2 separate regions of the Homo sapiens genome follow, and region 1 is linked to region 2. Evidence: promoter capture Hi-C in 16 types of primary human blood cells and fetal thymus (Javierre and others, 2016). All regions are on one chromosome and are shown on one strand. The core of a region is centred on a gene start or on the middle of the fragment in contact, and the rest is flanking DNA. Distances in the headings are between cores, read along the strand shown. Region 1 holds the start of TSFM (Ts translation elongation factor, mitochondrial). Region 2 overlaps DCTN2 (dynactin subunit 2).

Region 1 (7,534 bases), core at 4,064-6,563, 250 kb after region 2:
CAGCCTACCTTTGATAACTTTGCATTTGATGCTGACACTCCCTCCTCCTTGGAACAATTCCTTTGGTTTCCAGGGGACCACACTTCTGGTTTCTGCTTACCGGCAGGAACTCCTTTTCCATGCTCTCTTGTTGGTTCTTTTTCATCTTCACAACTGAAAATGTGAGTGCCCCAGGGCTCAGGGGCAGTCCTTTGATCCCCTCCTTTTCTTGTCTACCTCACTCCTGAGCAGCCCATCACCTCATGCCTTTAAATGTCCTGTTGAAGCCGGACGCGGTGGCTTACGCCTGTAATCCGAGCACTTTGGGAGGCTAAGGTGGGTGGATCACCTGAGGTCAGGAGTTTGAGACTAGCCTGACCAACATGGTGAAACCCCATCTCTACTAAAAATACAAAATTAGCCGGGCGTGGTGGCAGGCGCCTGTAATCCCAGCTACTTGCGAGGCTGAGGCAGGAGAATTGCTTAAACCTGGGAGGCGGAGGTTGCAATGAGCCGAGATCATGCCATTGCCCTCCAGCCTGGGCAACAAGTGCGAGACTCCATCTCAAAAAAAAAAAAAAAAAAATGCCCCGTTGGTGATCATGACTCTAAGACTATCCCATTTCTATCTCCAGACTTGCTTGCATAACCTAGTGCCTACTCAGTATCTTCATGTGGTTGTCTGATGTGATATAGAAGTCCATGTCAAACTTAACGTGCTCAGAAAATGAACTCATGATCTTCCTGTCCAAATTGCGCCTCCTGCAACCTTTCTCATCTAAATGAGTGGCAATTTGGTCTTCTAGTTGGTCAGGCCAAACACCCAGAAACCATCCTGAGCTTTTTTTTTTTTTTTGAGACAGGTTCTCACTCTGTTGCCCAGGCTGGAGTGAAAGTAGCACAATCATGGCTCACTAAAGCCCTGAACTTTCAACCTCCCGAGGCTCAAGCAATCCTCTGACCTCAGCCTCCCGAGTAGCTGGGACTACAGGATGTGCCACCACACCCAGCTAATTTTTGTATTTTTTATAGAGACGAGGTTTTGCTATGTTGCCCAGACTGGTCTCAAACTCCTGGACTCAAGCAGTCATCCCGCATTGGCCTCCCAAAGTGTAATCCAAAGGGATTACAGGCGTGAGCCACTGTGCCTGGCCCATCCCAAGCTTTTCTCTCTCTCTCATATTTTATATCCAATCTATTGGCAAATCCTGTTGACTCTACCTTCAAAATATATTCAGGATCTGACCATTTCTTAGCCATTGCTACTGCCCTGGTTTAAACCATCATCATCTCTCACCTGAGTCATTGCCATCACCTCCTAACTGGTCTCCTAGCTTCTGACCTTGCCCTCCTGTACTCTTCTCATCATAGCAGCCAGCATGCTCCTCCTAAAGCATGCCAGCGTGTGCCATTCTTTTTTTTTTGAGACAGAGTCTTGCACTTGTTGCCCAGGTCGGAGTGCAATGGCACAATCTCGGCTCATTGCAACCTTCGCCTCCCAGGTTCAAGCGATTCTCCTGCCTCAGCCTCCCTAGTAGCTGGCATTACAGGCGCCCGCCACCACACCCAGCTAATTTTTTTGTATTTTTAGTAGATATGGGGTTTCACCATTTTGGTCAGGCTGGTCTGACCACTCAATTTAAAATTTCATTCTCCAGCCACTCAATTTAAAATTACATTCAGGCTGCCAAGACTTTGTCCTCTATGCCCTGGGGTCTCTGGACCTTCCAGGTAGGAGCCGAGAACCCTTGGTTGGTCCCTCTAACTTGCATTTCTCCCCATCCCTCAAGCAATTCTTATCCCCCTTCCCTGCTTGGGGCTTCACCATGGCATATATTACCATCTGATGTACAGTGTATTTTATTTTATTTATTTTGTTTGTTGTTATCATCTGTTTCTTGCCACTGGACCATAAGCTCTGTGAGGGGGGATTCTTATCTTCTTAGTTCATCATTATGTTCTCAGCACTTGGCATATAGGCACATAATAAATATGAATGAATGAATGGATTCCTAGTACTTCTTGCTTCTCTTTCTATCATAGTCATCATGATTATGATGCAGTACCTAGTGTGTCTCTACCTCTAGAATGAAACAAAGAAAGCTGTGTTTTTGTCTTGCTCACCTTATATACCCAGCACTTAGAAGGTTCTCCAAATTATATCTACTGCATGAATGAAGGTTTCTGAGATGCTAATCTGACCATCTTCACCCGTTTCTGCCCTTAAAGCTTACTGCCCTCAGTATCGAACCTGAATCTTCTTAGCATGTCATAATCACTTTCCCTTTGTCTCATGTCTTGACACTTTTCTCCCCCTTCCACATCCTCTAAGATGCAGCCTTTCCTGAATATGCCATGCTCTTTCACTCCCAGGCCTTTGTACTCACTGTTCTCTTCTTGGAAAGCTCCACCTGACTAACTCCTACTTGTCCTTTAGGGCTCAGCTGAGGTCACATTTTCTGGGAAGCTTTCCAGACCCTTAAGGCGAGCTTGTGTCAGTGGGGGTGGGTACAGAACCCATCTCCAGCTTAGTCCTGCCCAGGCTTCTGCTGACATCTGATTGTTGTGTGTTGGCCAGAGAGGTTGAAGATTAGCTCAGAGAGAATGTTGATGTTGTAGAATGTAGAGTAATGAGAATAGCAGTGGGTGAAATGGAGGTTGAGGCAACTAAAAGCCAGTGTGGGCTCTGGGCTGTCAAGACATTGTCCTCTATGCTCTGAGGTCTCTGGACCTTCCAGGCAGGAGCCAAGAACCCTTGGTTGGTTCCTCTGACTTGCATTTTTCCTCCTTCCTCTCTCTCAGGGGGGGATGTTACCATCACTGACCTGCCCCTGGCCCTAGAACAGATCCAGGGCAACGTCCAGGCCAATGTGCCAGCTGGAGGCCAGGCCCAGGTGCGTGCCTTGTCCTGGGGGATTGACCATCATGTCTTCCCTGCAAACTATGACCTGGTGCTGGGGGCTGATATCGTGTACCTGGAACCCACCTTCCCTCTGCTGCTGGGGACCCTCCAACACCTGTGCAGGCCCCATGGCACCATCTATCTGGCCTCCAAGATGAGAAAGGAGCATGGGACAGAGAGCTTCTTTCAGCACCTCCTGCCCCAGCATTTCCAACTGGAGCTGGCTCAGCGGGATGAGGATGAAAATGTCAACATCTATAGGGCCAGGCACAGGGAACCAAGACCTGCTTGACATCACCCTTGCTGTTCTTCTCAATCTCTTGCTCTAATGAAGGAACTGTGTATCTCAAAAACCATATTTCCAGAGCCACAAACATGAGGACCAAAAAGGATGGATTTCCCTGGCCTCTCTCACTTTCCTCCTTCCCTCTTTGTTACCCCAGATACTCTTGGGCAGGTGCAGTGAGGTGCCTGCTTACAAGGAATCCCAGAGTTCTGGCAGCACTAGTGTTAGAACACCAAGGAGGTTCCTGGCTCCTGTTCTCAGAGAAGGAGGATGGTAAGGTATCCAGGATTTTTAGGGGGTAAGGGAGATATATGGGATGTGAGAGCAGTGATTGTAGACAGACTGTCACTGATCACTTCCATTCCTGTTGCTGTTTACACAGAATGGACTTTAAAAAAATTCTGTGGGATTTTTTTTTCTTTTTTTCTTTTTTTTTGAGACAGGGTCTCACTCTGTCATCCAGGCTGGAGTGCAGTGGTGTGATCACAGCTCACTGCAGCCTCAACCTCTGAAGGCCCAGATGATCTTCCTGCCTCAGCTCCCCAAGTAGCTGGGACTAGAGGCATGCGCCACCACACCCGGCTAATTTTTGTATTTTCAGTAGAGACAGGGTTTCGCCATGTTGCCCAGGGTGGTCTCAAACTCCTGGGCTCAAGTGATCCACCCGCCTTGCCTCCCAAAGTGCTGGGATTGCAGGCATGGCCCACTGTGCTAGCCTAGGATTTTTTTTTTTTTTTAAGAAAGAATTAAGCCTTAAAAATCTATTGTGCAAGAACCCAACTTTTACTCAGGAGCTGAGAAGGAAGAAGCCTCAAACCACCCATTTCCTGCTTTTTAGAGATAGAGTCTAGTGGAACCATGGCTCTAACTGGGTCAAGTCCTCCTAGCTCTGAAGCTAAGGCTGCAGAGCTGTCCTTTGGACTGTATTTCTTCATGCTTTCCAGAGTTAGAGCCTTGATCACGGAACATCATTGTGTGCAGAAGAATACTGTACCTAGTACTAAGTTCTTTTCATCTTTGATTTTTCTTTAGCTTCATCAGTCCTTCCTTCCTAATCTCTAATCCCCTGAAGCCTAACACAGTTCCTAATGTGTTTTGCCTTAACCTCTTTTCTCTTCCCACATTGGTACTTCTGGTTGGGGCTCTCTTTACTTACTGCTTAGGCACATAGTCACCTTCTCTGGACTCCCTGCTTCCATGCTTTCTCCTTCAGTCCATTCCGCAAACTCTTGTGATCTTCCAAAATTAGCTCTGATTAGCTTTCACTTCCTGTAGAAGCAAGAACAAGCTCCTCTGCTTGGTACTTAGTCTGTGTCCATGTGATCCAAAATTACCTTCCTATTGCATTTCCTACTCCTTTGCTACGTGTATTGGACCTCTGGCCAAATTACAAAAGATGTACTCTTTGTTCTCTAAAACCACACTAAAGTTTTCTGACTTCTTTCACACTCTTTATGATAATCCTCTGCCTGAAAGGCTATTGCCACCTGTCAAAATCTTCATTATTCTTTGCCTCTTTCCTGAGCCTCTTGCTTGAATGTGATTTCTTTCTCCCTGAGACCCATAAGGTTCATCTTATGGGACCTTAATTTGTCTTGCATGGACATTTGTGATTCTCATTTTCTCACCATTAAATTACCTTGGAGGGTAGGGCTGTGGTTTACTCCTGTCTAAACCCCTGAAGCCTAACACAGTTCCTGGCACACAACAGGTGTTCAACAGATATTGTGCTCATTCAATAAATATTTACTCGCTTTGTTTAATGGATTCCACCCCTGCCTTCCTAGGTGACCTTGGACAAATTCTCGAACCCATTCACCAACCACACAAGTTTGTTGTGAGTCATAAATGGATAATGAATATAAATGCGCATTGAAAATAAACATAAAATGTTACCCACATTTCTTGTGTTGTTGTTTTGTGACGACTTTATTTCTTGGTTTCTGTTATTTTACCTGGGGTGGGAGGTGGGGGGTAATTCCCGTATGAAATGTGTCGTCTCAAGAAATCAAGTAGAGGCGAGGACTGTGTTCCTCCGGCCAGCAGGTGGCACCATACTCGTTTGGTGCGTTCCGCTGGAGAATTCTGGCCCTTCCGCCGCGCCGTAGGTTTGTTGCCTCACCAGTGCGCCCGCCGGAGGGTGTTTATCGCGGCTAGAGAGATGTCGCTGCTGCGGTCGCTGCGCGTGTTTCTGGTCGCGCGGACCGGGAGCTACCCGGTGAGAAGTCCTGGTGCTGGTACCGACCTGCTGTCCCTGCAGCTCTCCTGTGCGCCTGTACCTTTCCCTTCCTCCCAACCTCGTTTGACTCCATCTCACCTTCCCCGACAGCATTGCCTCTGCCCAGTCCAGCCCCGGTGCACCCCCCTTTGCACACTGTCCGCTCCCTAAGGTCGCTTCCCTGCCCGTGTACCCTTCACCCTCTGGAGTTTGCTGCTTCCTGCTCCTCATCCCTTTCTTATCTCATCTAGGCTGGGTCTCTTCTGCGTCAGTCGCCCCAGCCAAGGCACACATTTTATGCTGGGCCCCGTCTGTCTGCCTCGGCCTCCAGCAAGGAGCTCCTCATGAAGCTGCGGCGGAAAACAGGCTACTCCTTTGTAAATTGCAAGAAAGCTCTGGAGACTTGTGGCGGGGACCTCAAACAGGTGTGTGTGTGGAGGGGTGCAGGGCGGAGTACTAGAGCTCGACCTCAGACTCTTGGGGCGGTCACGCTGGGGAGCATAAAGTTAGACTGCTCTTCAGTGACCATAATGGCACAGTCCTAAGTGGAAATCTGGCTTAAATGACAACCTTGGCCTTGACTTTGTCTTATTTGAAAGCAGTTGAGTATCCCAGGATTAACAAACCAGACTGTTACGGTGTTTCTTGTTGCCTGGAGCTGAAAGGGTTTGTGTGAGCTTTGGAGTCAGATTGTTCAGGAGTCAAATTGTGGGGCCCCCACACTGTCTGACTTTAGACTTTTTTTTTTTTTTTCAGACGGAGTCTTGCTCTGTGGCCCAGGCCGGCGTGCAATGGCACGATGTTGGCTCACTGCAACCTCCGCCTCCCGGGTTCAAGCGATTCTCCTGCCTCAGCCTCCTGAGTAGTTGGGATTACAGGCGTGCGCCACGACACCCGGCTATTTTATTTTTTATTTTTTATTTTTTTTTGTATTTTTAGTAGAGATGGGGTTTCGCCGTGTCGGCCAGGCTGGTCTCGAACTCCTGGCCTCAGGTGATCCGCCCGCCTCGGCTTCCCAGAGTGGTGGGATTACAGGAGTGAGCCACCGCGCCCGGCTGACTTTAGACATCTTAATCTTTCAGAGTTGTGTAGTTTTTGCCTGTACGGTCATGCGTCTCTTAATAGGAAGATACATTCTGAGAAATGGCGTCGTTAGGAGATTTTGGCTTATGCACATCATAGAGTACCTACACAAACCTAGATGGTATATTGTACTACAACCTGGGCTATATGGAATTGCCAGCTGCTCCTAGGCTACAAACCGTTACAAAATGTTACTGGACTGAATACTGTAGGCAGTTGTAACACAGTGGTAAGTATTGTGTATCTAAACATAGAAAAAGTACAGTAAATAGGCATAAAAGATAAAAAACGATACATCTCCATAGGGAACTTATCATGTATGGAGCTTGCAGGACTGGAAGTTGCTCTGGGTGAGTCAGTGAGTGGTGAGTGAATATGAAGGCCTGCCTTAGGACACTATGGTGCACTATAGTAGACGTTAAAGCACAGTACACATAAGCTACATTACATTTATAAGAAATTTTTTTCTGTGATAATAAGTTAACCTTAGTTTAATGTAACATTTTTATTTTATAAACTTTTAACATGTTTTAAATTTTTGGACTCTTTTGTAATAACAGCATAAAACACATATTGTACAGCTGTACCAAAATATTTTTCTTTATGCACTTTTTCTGTGAGCTTTTTTCTGTTTTTAAAATTTTAAACTTTTTTTGGCTGGGCGTGGTGGCTCATGCCTGTAATCTCAGAACTTTGGGAGGCTGAGGCAAGCGGATCACCTGAGGTTGCGAGTTCGAGACTAGCCTGACCCACACGGAGAAACCTCGTCTCTACTAAAAAAAAATAAAATTAGCCTGGTGTGGTGGCAAGGGCCTGTAATCCCAGCTACTCGGGAGGCTGAGGTAGGATAATCTCTTGAACCCAAAAGGCGGAGGTTGTGGTGAGCCGAGATCGTGCCATTGCACTCCAGCCTGGGCAATAAGAGTGAAACTCTGTCTCAAAAAAAAAAACAACAACTTTTTTTATTGAAATATCTTTTTTTTTTTTTTTTTTTTTTTTTTTTGAGACAGAGTCTTACTCTGTCCCCCAGGCTGGACTGCAGTGGCACAATCTTGGCTCACTGCAA
Region 2 (7,694 bases), core at 517-3,016:
CCCATACACACTACACTGCCCCTTCTCCCCCCATCAAAACGCTCAGAGACGTTGTGATGATGCGACTGAGGATTATGCAACGTGGTCCAACCGGAGCGGCCAGCATGACCAGCTGTCCAGGGGCTGCCTCCTGCCTTTTCTTTTGTAAAGACAAGACCCTTGGGAGTTTTAATTCTGTTTTGTACTTGCCCTGTGGGGCCTCCACTGCTTTTCTATGGGAGACACTCTTAATTTAACAGATGAGAATATTTTGAAACTCTGGCTCTGGCTCTGTACTCATTTTTTATTTAGTTCTTTGGTAAGAACAGGTTACAATTTAAATCCATCTCTTGTAGTATAGAGTGGCTTAGATTGCCTGTTATGACGAATGAATATCTATATCCTAGTGCTGCTTCCTCCCCAGGAAACACAGCAGAGGCCACACAGAGTACAACAGCATTTAATGGTCAGAAACAGTTGTACAGTATTACAGTCAGCCACAGAAGCTGTGTTGGGGGACAAGACCCAATCCTTCCCCACACCAGGCAAAGCAGTATTGGACATGAGTTGGCATGTGGCTGGGCCCACGTCCTTATCCCCCAGGCCTGAGGGGAGACCACCTTCTGATGATAACCAACCCCTAGCTACCACTCTGTATTCATCAGGGGAGGGGTATAAACCCCACATGCAAGAAGAACCCTTGCCCCCAGTGTCAAATGGGATGGGGATGCTAGAGTTATAGTAAAGGGGAAACCCTATGTAAGCTGTTAACAGAGTTCACAGGGGTAGGGATAACCCCTGTTCTCCAGCTCCCAAATGTGCTCACTTTCCCAGCTTCTTCATCCGTTCATCAATGCTGGCAAAGTTCCCCTCAACTGTGGCCAGGTTTTCACGCATGGTTGTCTGCACCTACAAAGTGGTAGAGAGGTTTTACTCTTTGTCAGGTCCAGTTGCTTAACTGGATGAGGACCTGAAGGAATTCTCTGAGAGAGAAGACAAGAAATGGAAGCACAATTTGTGGGCCACAGAGGGGGGATGTTTATAGCACCAATTTTCAAGCTACCCTTAGAGTACATAGACCACGCTTGGGGTGAGCCCAAGCAGGTAGGACTCGAGAATTCCCATCCTGACTTCAGCCAGAACAGTTTTTTAAAATCTGTTTTATGTAATGAGAGCTAAATAAGATTTTGTTGAAATGAGGGTTTCACTGGTTCAAAATGTTAGAAAACTGCTCTGGAGGAAAAGGATATTATTCTAAGTCCTTTATATATTTTTTCATTTATCTCAGTGATCCTGTGATTGATGCTGGTCTCTCGACTTTAATGCTCCTTCCAGCACTGAGAACAGTGCCTCCAACAGAAATTGGGACTTGCGGCCAGGTGCAGTGGCTCACGCCTGTAATCTCAGCACTTTGGGAGGCCGAGATGGGTGGGATCACTTGAGGTCAGGAGTTTGAGACCACCCTGGACAACATGGTGAAACCCCGTCTCTACTAAAAAAAAAAATTAGGTGTGGTGGTGCGTGCCTGTAATCCCAGCTACTCAATAGGCTGAGGCATGAGAATTGCTTGAGCCCGGGAGGTGGAGGCTGCAGTGAGCTGAGATCACACCACTGCACTCCAGCCTGGGCAACAGAGCGAGACTCTGTCTTAAAAATAAAAAACAATAAGAAATTGTGGACTTGCTGTGTGCCAGGCATTACTAAAAGAATGAAGGAGCTAGGTGAGGCTCATTGTCCAGGGCCAGAAAGGAAGCGACAGAACGAGATTAGGGCCTGCTTCTGACTTCAAAGCCCGGATTCCTTCCAGTGTACTGTGCTTATCAGGGAGAGTAAAGTTGAGACGACAAAGGGAAAGAGTGGGGTTTTATAAGAAAACATGTTCACTAGCCCCTAACAATTTGCCCATATTATTTCACCTCATCTACATAACTCTGAGGGAGGTATAATTTCCCAGATGGAAAGATGGAGGTTCATAGGTTAAATAAGTTGTCAAAGGGCCTTCACATTGAAAGCAGGATGGAGACTCCAGACCAACCCCCTGCCACAACACCATGCTACAAAATAGGCTAAGGCAGAACCCTATAACACTGGAGAACCTAGTTTGCACATGCTGGAGAAAGGAGGACAGATCAACAAAGGGGCACACACCTGGGTCAAGAGGGTGGTATTGTCCTTCAAGGAATTAGCAATCATCTGCTGGGTGGTATCCAAGTGTGTCAGGAGCTGACCAAACTGCATGGCTACAAAAGAAAAGTATGGTTGAGACTTGAATCCAAGATAAGGGAGGGGACCAAAAGTTGCCCATTTTTCAACTTCTCTTAGCACTCCTGGCAGCTGGCCTCCCACCTTGCTCGTGCAGCTGCTTGATGGTGACAAGTCTCTGCACCAGCTCAGGGAGGGTGGAGGCAATGGGGCTCCAGCGCTGTATAGTTTCATATAGCTGGTGCACCTGAAGGGACACAATGGGGCCCAGAGGGGATGGCTGAGGCAGCCAGGTCAGTATGTACAGACTGCTATTTCACCGTAATGGGGGAAAGGATCAAGTGGGCAGAGGGAAGCAGTGCCCTGACTTTCCAAGCTGATAAGCTCTTCATAAGAGCTTATGAAGATGGGGACCTGAGGAGTCAGTGTGTTCTCATGCTTTGACACTGCCACTCGGAGAACCTGAGGGAGTGGAAAGGAGATGGGGAAGGTGTCTTCCTGACCTTGCTTTGTGTATCTGCATCTTCTACAGAGGCTTTATGCTTGGCAATCTCGTTCACCTTTCCCAGGACACTCTGAAAACACAGATTTTAAGGTTGATAGGGCATCCAGGGCTTCCAGAGTCCCAAGCTATCCATAATTTAATTTTCCCTCCATTTAATACCTGTAGCCGAGCCTCCACTTGATCCAAAACTGCAAGGTCTAGGGCGCTCACCTTTGCTTGCAACAGCTCTACAGTCTCCTGGGGATGGAAGTTGGGACAAGCATCATGAAGAGGAAAGGCAGACTAGCAAGAGGCCTCCCATATTCCACTAAATTAATATATAGCTACAAACTCAAAAATAATCCTCAAAGCAAACCCAAACCCAACTATCCCCTCTGTGATCCAAACACTCCAGTTTCTTCCAAACTCACCATGAGACAGGCTCCCTGTAGACCTGCAGAAAGGGGATTCTGGTGGGAAAGGAAGGGAAGAAGTGAGTGGTCCTTATATCTCCATGATTATCGTCTTCTCCCATCTTTCCTGGTTCTAGCTGGGAACCCACTAGCTGATCCCTGTAACTGAAGCCCTTTGATGACTCCTCCCAGGCTTATGTGGAATGTTGTAGACCTTAAGGCCTAGAGTTGCAGGATCTAAGGCTCAGATTATGTACAGGAGAACACCTGACCTGAGCATCCTGATCACAACGTACAGCTGTCTCCAGCTCTGTCAGGCGCTTTTCAAGTTCTGCGACCTAGTGGGAGGAAGGAGGTGAGATTTGCCATCTGCTTCCCTGCTGCTGCAATGGGAGGAATACGATCCTGCTCTACTCTGCCTGCCACTCACCACCCCAAGGGATTCCTTTCCCTGGAATACATACCTAGCCACAATCTTAAAATCCTAACCAAAGGTAGATGGGCGAGGGAAACATAGAGAATGAGGTCGGGCGCGGTGGCTCACGCCTGTAATCCCAGTGCTTTGGGAGGCCGAGGCGGGCGGATCACGAGGTCAGGAGATCGAGACCATTCTGGCTAACATGGTGAAACCCCATCTCTACCAAAAATACAAAAAATGAGCCGGGCGTGGTGGCAGGTGCCTGTAGTCCCAGCTACTCAGGAGGCTGAGGCAGGAGAATGGCGTGAACCCGGGAGGCGGAGCTTGCAGTGAGCCAAGATTGCGCCACTGCACTCCAGCCTGGGAAACAGTGCAAGACTCCGTCTCAAAAAAAAAAAAAAAAGAAAGAAACATAGAGAACAACGAATCAGGAATCAAAAGAGGAATCAATCAAGAGGAATCAGAGGAATCAGAAGCCTTCCCAGCACCCTCTCCTTGGAGAGAGGCAGGAAAATCTCTAGGGTCACATCTCCCCTTGGCTTCCCAACCAACACTGTATCCACACTTACTTTGGCAGCTTGAGAGAACTTGTCCTGCTCAGGCCGAGAATGTAGTTCATAAGTGACAAGGCTGCTATCTGGGGGGGTCCCAGTGGTTTTTCCCCCTGATCCCCCTTTGCTGTTCTTTGTTGCTTCCAGCTGCAGTAGTAGGCGCCTAGTTAGGAGACCGAGTAATAATATCATGACTGGAAGGAGAAGGGCCAGTCACTCTCCCTCACTTTTGCCTCATAATCAGCATTAAGAAACATCTAAGCCACTTCTCTGCCACTTAGCACCCCTGTCAGTAGCTGGCTGAGTCCATCCACAACCCCAGTCAGCAATGATTTTTCAACAAAGTAGGGTACCCACTTAGCCAGGGCGCCATCGGGGTCGGTAAGGTTGATTGCAGCATCTGGTCCCAGCAGCTTCTCCAGGTGGGAAGCAACCAGCTGCTGCTTCAGGGCTGCCAGCTGTTTAGCCAGCAACACAGGGGTCAGCTTCTCCTCTGTGGCTGACTCCTTCACTGTCGTCTAGTATGAAAAAAGGTAGAAATCGGGGGATGGCAAGAATGAATCAAGAAGCAAAAAAATAGGTCAAGCCCTTTAAAGGTAGTTGTAGCTGGAGGTCACTGGGATGGTTTTCAGCATGACAGACTGCCCACCTGTATGTAGCACTGCATACAGATGGATGCATATTTGTAAACTCTGGAAACCTTAGCCCCTTTATCCAGGAGCTTAAGGAATCTTTCTTTCTTTCATTTTTTGAGATGGAGTCTCGCTCTGTCACCCAGGTTGGAGTGCAGTGGCATGATCTGGGCTCACTGCAACCTCCGCCTCCGAGTTCAAGCAATTCTCCTGCCTTAGCCTCCCGAGTAGCTGGGATTACAGGTATGCGCCACCACACCTGGCTAAGTTTTTGTATTTTTTTAGTACAGATGGGGTTTCATCATGTTGGCCTGGCTGGTCTTGAACTCCTGACCTCAGGTGATCCGCCTGCCTCGGCCTCCCAAAGTGGTAGGATTATAGGCGTGAGCCACCGCACCCAGCCAGGCAGGGAATCTTTCTCTTCTTGCTTGAGGTCTTCCTCTACTGTGTAAGTCACAGCAGAGAAGGGAGAAGAGAGTTTGTAGTTACCTTGATTTTTTCAACTTCAGTTGTCAGCTCTTGGACCTCATGCAGTAGGCGCTGGTACTTTTGCTGGGGTGTCTCCTTCACTCCCAGACCCTCTCCAAGCTAGAGAGCAGGCACAGAGGGTAATGTTATATGTCTCATTACAGGGAGCCTCAAGAATTCATCCACACCCTGGGCCTAAGTCATAAAGGTATCATATCCAATTGAGAATCCACAACACCCTAGTACCAAAGAACTGAGGACAGCTAGAGGGCTGGAGGCTCTCCAGAACAAACAGCAGTAGGGCAGAGTTTCCCTGGCTGCATCCTGCTGCTTCCTCAGGAACAGAGGAGGAACAGAATCCCGCCTGTATCCCTTGATCTCCCTACTACATGTCTGCTAGATAGGGTCACTACACCATTCCCATCAACACACACACACACACAACAAACCATCTCATATTCTCCAGATTCATATCCTGTCCTCTTGGTTTTTCCAATACGATCTGAGAAATCTGCCAAGAAAAGAAGATGGAACTGAGGGCCTGATCTAGGCCCAAGGCAGTCATGGTCTCAGGTGACTGTGAGGGCTTCCATAAAATATCTCCATGAGGGACCCCTTCCCCCAAGCACAACTCACTAAGACTTTAGGACAGGAAACCACTTCTCATGCTTATCCTCCAGTCTTCCCCCCACCCAGCTTCCAGCCCAGTCTCACCAAGTCCCTTTGTCCCCACTCTCTTGTCCTTGAACTTGTCATAGGCAGCATTAGGATTGACAATGATGTGTTCCACACTTGTGCTTGTCAGCTCCTCCTGCAAGAACAGGTAGTTTAGGCCAGGGACACACTCATTCCCACTCTAGAACTTACTCTACCCCACAAAATCCCCAAACCATTAGGTGACTGGGCCCTACTTGTCCAAGGGGAAAGAAGGGTGGCTCTATTCCAAGGCGCCTACCCAGGCTTAACCTAGGAAACTGAAGCTTCCTGGTAAATTTGGAGCCTCAGTTGTATAAATATTAACACCCTCATTCAACTGGGAGCAGAGGGAGCATAACCTCCCCACCCTCTCTGTACATAAGCCTTCCCATCCCCCCATGCTACCCCTCCCAGTTGTCTGGCACACGCCATGCACTCAAGGCAAGAAACCAACCTGACCTCTTTTAACCTCCCCCTCCCAAAAGTAAATCTTGCCCGCTGAGCAAGTCCATTTTAATGCTAACCTCCCATCCTTGCTAGAAGGAAAGAGGAGGGAAGGCAGATAATCAGGCCACTAACACTGAGTGTGAATATTAGGACTTTAAACCTGTTGAAGGTAAGACACAAGCTCTTAGTACAAAAAGAAGGCCGACAGAGGGCCTGACCAGAAGCCTGATTTCCAGGCTGCCATGAGGCCAGCGAACTCAGGGACAGGGAGAAGGGGCAAGGGCTTACTGGATTATCTTTATGGGACATCTTAGAAGCAACAAACATAGGCAATATCTGCTTGCCAAGAGTATCCATGGGCAAGAGCCACATGTAAGCTCTGAAATGGAGATAAACCAGCATCTCTTCAGAGACGCTGCAGCACCTGATTTTTCTCCCTGACTCCTCTGCTATGCTTTAAGCACTGAAGCTCTTCCAAAAACAGGGGACACAAGTAGGCGGTGAAAGAGACTTCACCCTAGAAACTGAAGCAGAGAGGTTCCCTCCTTACTAGATATCTACATGCTGTTCAGATTCCAGTGACAACACCAAGACTGCACCAAGCACTCCTGACTGCATGTCCCTTTTTCAATTGTCAGAAGCCTGACAGCTCCCAACAGAGTACTGATGGAAGTAGGAGGGAGACCCAGGAGTCCTTTTCTGTTGGGGATGACATCTCTACCTTCTATGGGAGGAAGGCAAAATGAGCCTTCCTTCTTTCACCTAGAACAATGGTTCTCACCCCAGGCTGCATGTTAGAATCACTTATAATTTTTTTTTTTTTTTAAATAGACAGCCGGGCAATGGTGGCTCAAGCCTGTCTGTAGTCCCAGCACTTTGGGAGGATCCTAATTCCAAGTGATCCACCCGCCTCGGCCTCCCAAAGTTCGGCCAAGGCGGGTGGATCTCAGGAGTTCAAGACCAGCCTGGGCAACATAGGGAAACCCCAACTCTACAAAAAATATAAAATAGCTGGGTATTGTGGCACGTGCCTGTGGTCCCAGCTACTCAGGAGGCTGAGGTGGAAGGGTCACTTGAGCCTGGCAGGTGGAGGATGCAGTGAGCAGAGATCATGCCACTGCACTCCAGCCTGGGCAACAGAGTGAGACCCTGTCTCAAAAAAAGAAAAAGAGAGAGAGAGAAAAGAAAAAAAAAAAAAAAAAAAGGCCTGGGCCCACTTCTAGAGATTCTAATGAATTATTCTGGGGTAGGGCCAGATATCCAGGTGATTCTAACCTACAGCCAGGACTGAGAATCTCTGCCTGTGTGTAGGTATGTGGGGAGAGGGTGTGAGGGGGACATGGTGGGACATCATTGAGAAAGAAAAGCAGATAGAAGGAAGCTCCTTCCTTCATCTCTGCTCTG

The links. Contacts are between HindIII fragments. The CHiCAGO score rates a contact against its expected background, and 5 or more counts as called.
Region 1: the fragment with the promoter of TSFM here is called in contact with a fragment that was not itself captured in region 2 in 4 of 17 cell types (non-activated CD4 T cells, neutrophils, M1 macrophages and 1 more); the score reaches 6.4 in non-activated CD4 T cells.

The regions. Positions count from the first base shown.
Region 1 is chr12:57,777,474-57,785,007 of GRCh38, forward strand. It overlaps TSFM (Ts translation elongation factor, mitochondrial), which reads left to right and starts at 5,314. Exons shown (of 6, transcript NM_005726.6): 1 at 5,314-5,385; 2 at 5,637-5,810. The coding sequence starts at 5,329. It overlaps EEF1AKMT3 (EEF1A lysine methyltransferase 3), which reads left to right. Exons shown (of 3, transcript NM_015433.3): 3 at 2,782-5,068. The coding sequence ends at 3,173. RefSeq lists enhancers at 5,075-5,944, 5,298-5,367. The HindIII fragment of the contact is 6,425 bases long and covers 2,445-7,534 here.
Region 2 is chr12:57,529,888-57,537,581 of GRCh38, forward strand. DCTN2 (dynactin subunit 2) reads right to left here. Exons shown (of 14, transcript NM_001261413.2): 3 at 5,862-5,958; 4 at 5,597-5,658; 5 at 5,169-5,267; 6 at 4,405-4,565; 7 at 4,066-4,210; 8 at 3,351-3,416; 9 at 3,097-3,135; 10 at 2,846-2,923; 11 at 2,685-2,756; 12 at 2,326-2,428; 13 at 2,128-2,219; 14 at 164-888. The coding sequence ends at 802. It overlaps MBD6 (methyl-CpG binding domain protein 6), which reads left to right. Exons shown (of 13, transcript NM_052897.4): 13 at 1-261. Among named protein-coding and RNA genes, the nearest start is that of MBD6, 11 kb to the left of the region's middle. The HindIII fragment of the contact is 8,717 bases long and covers 1-6,125 here.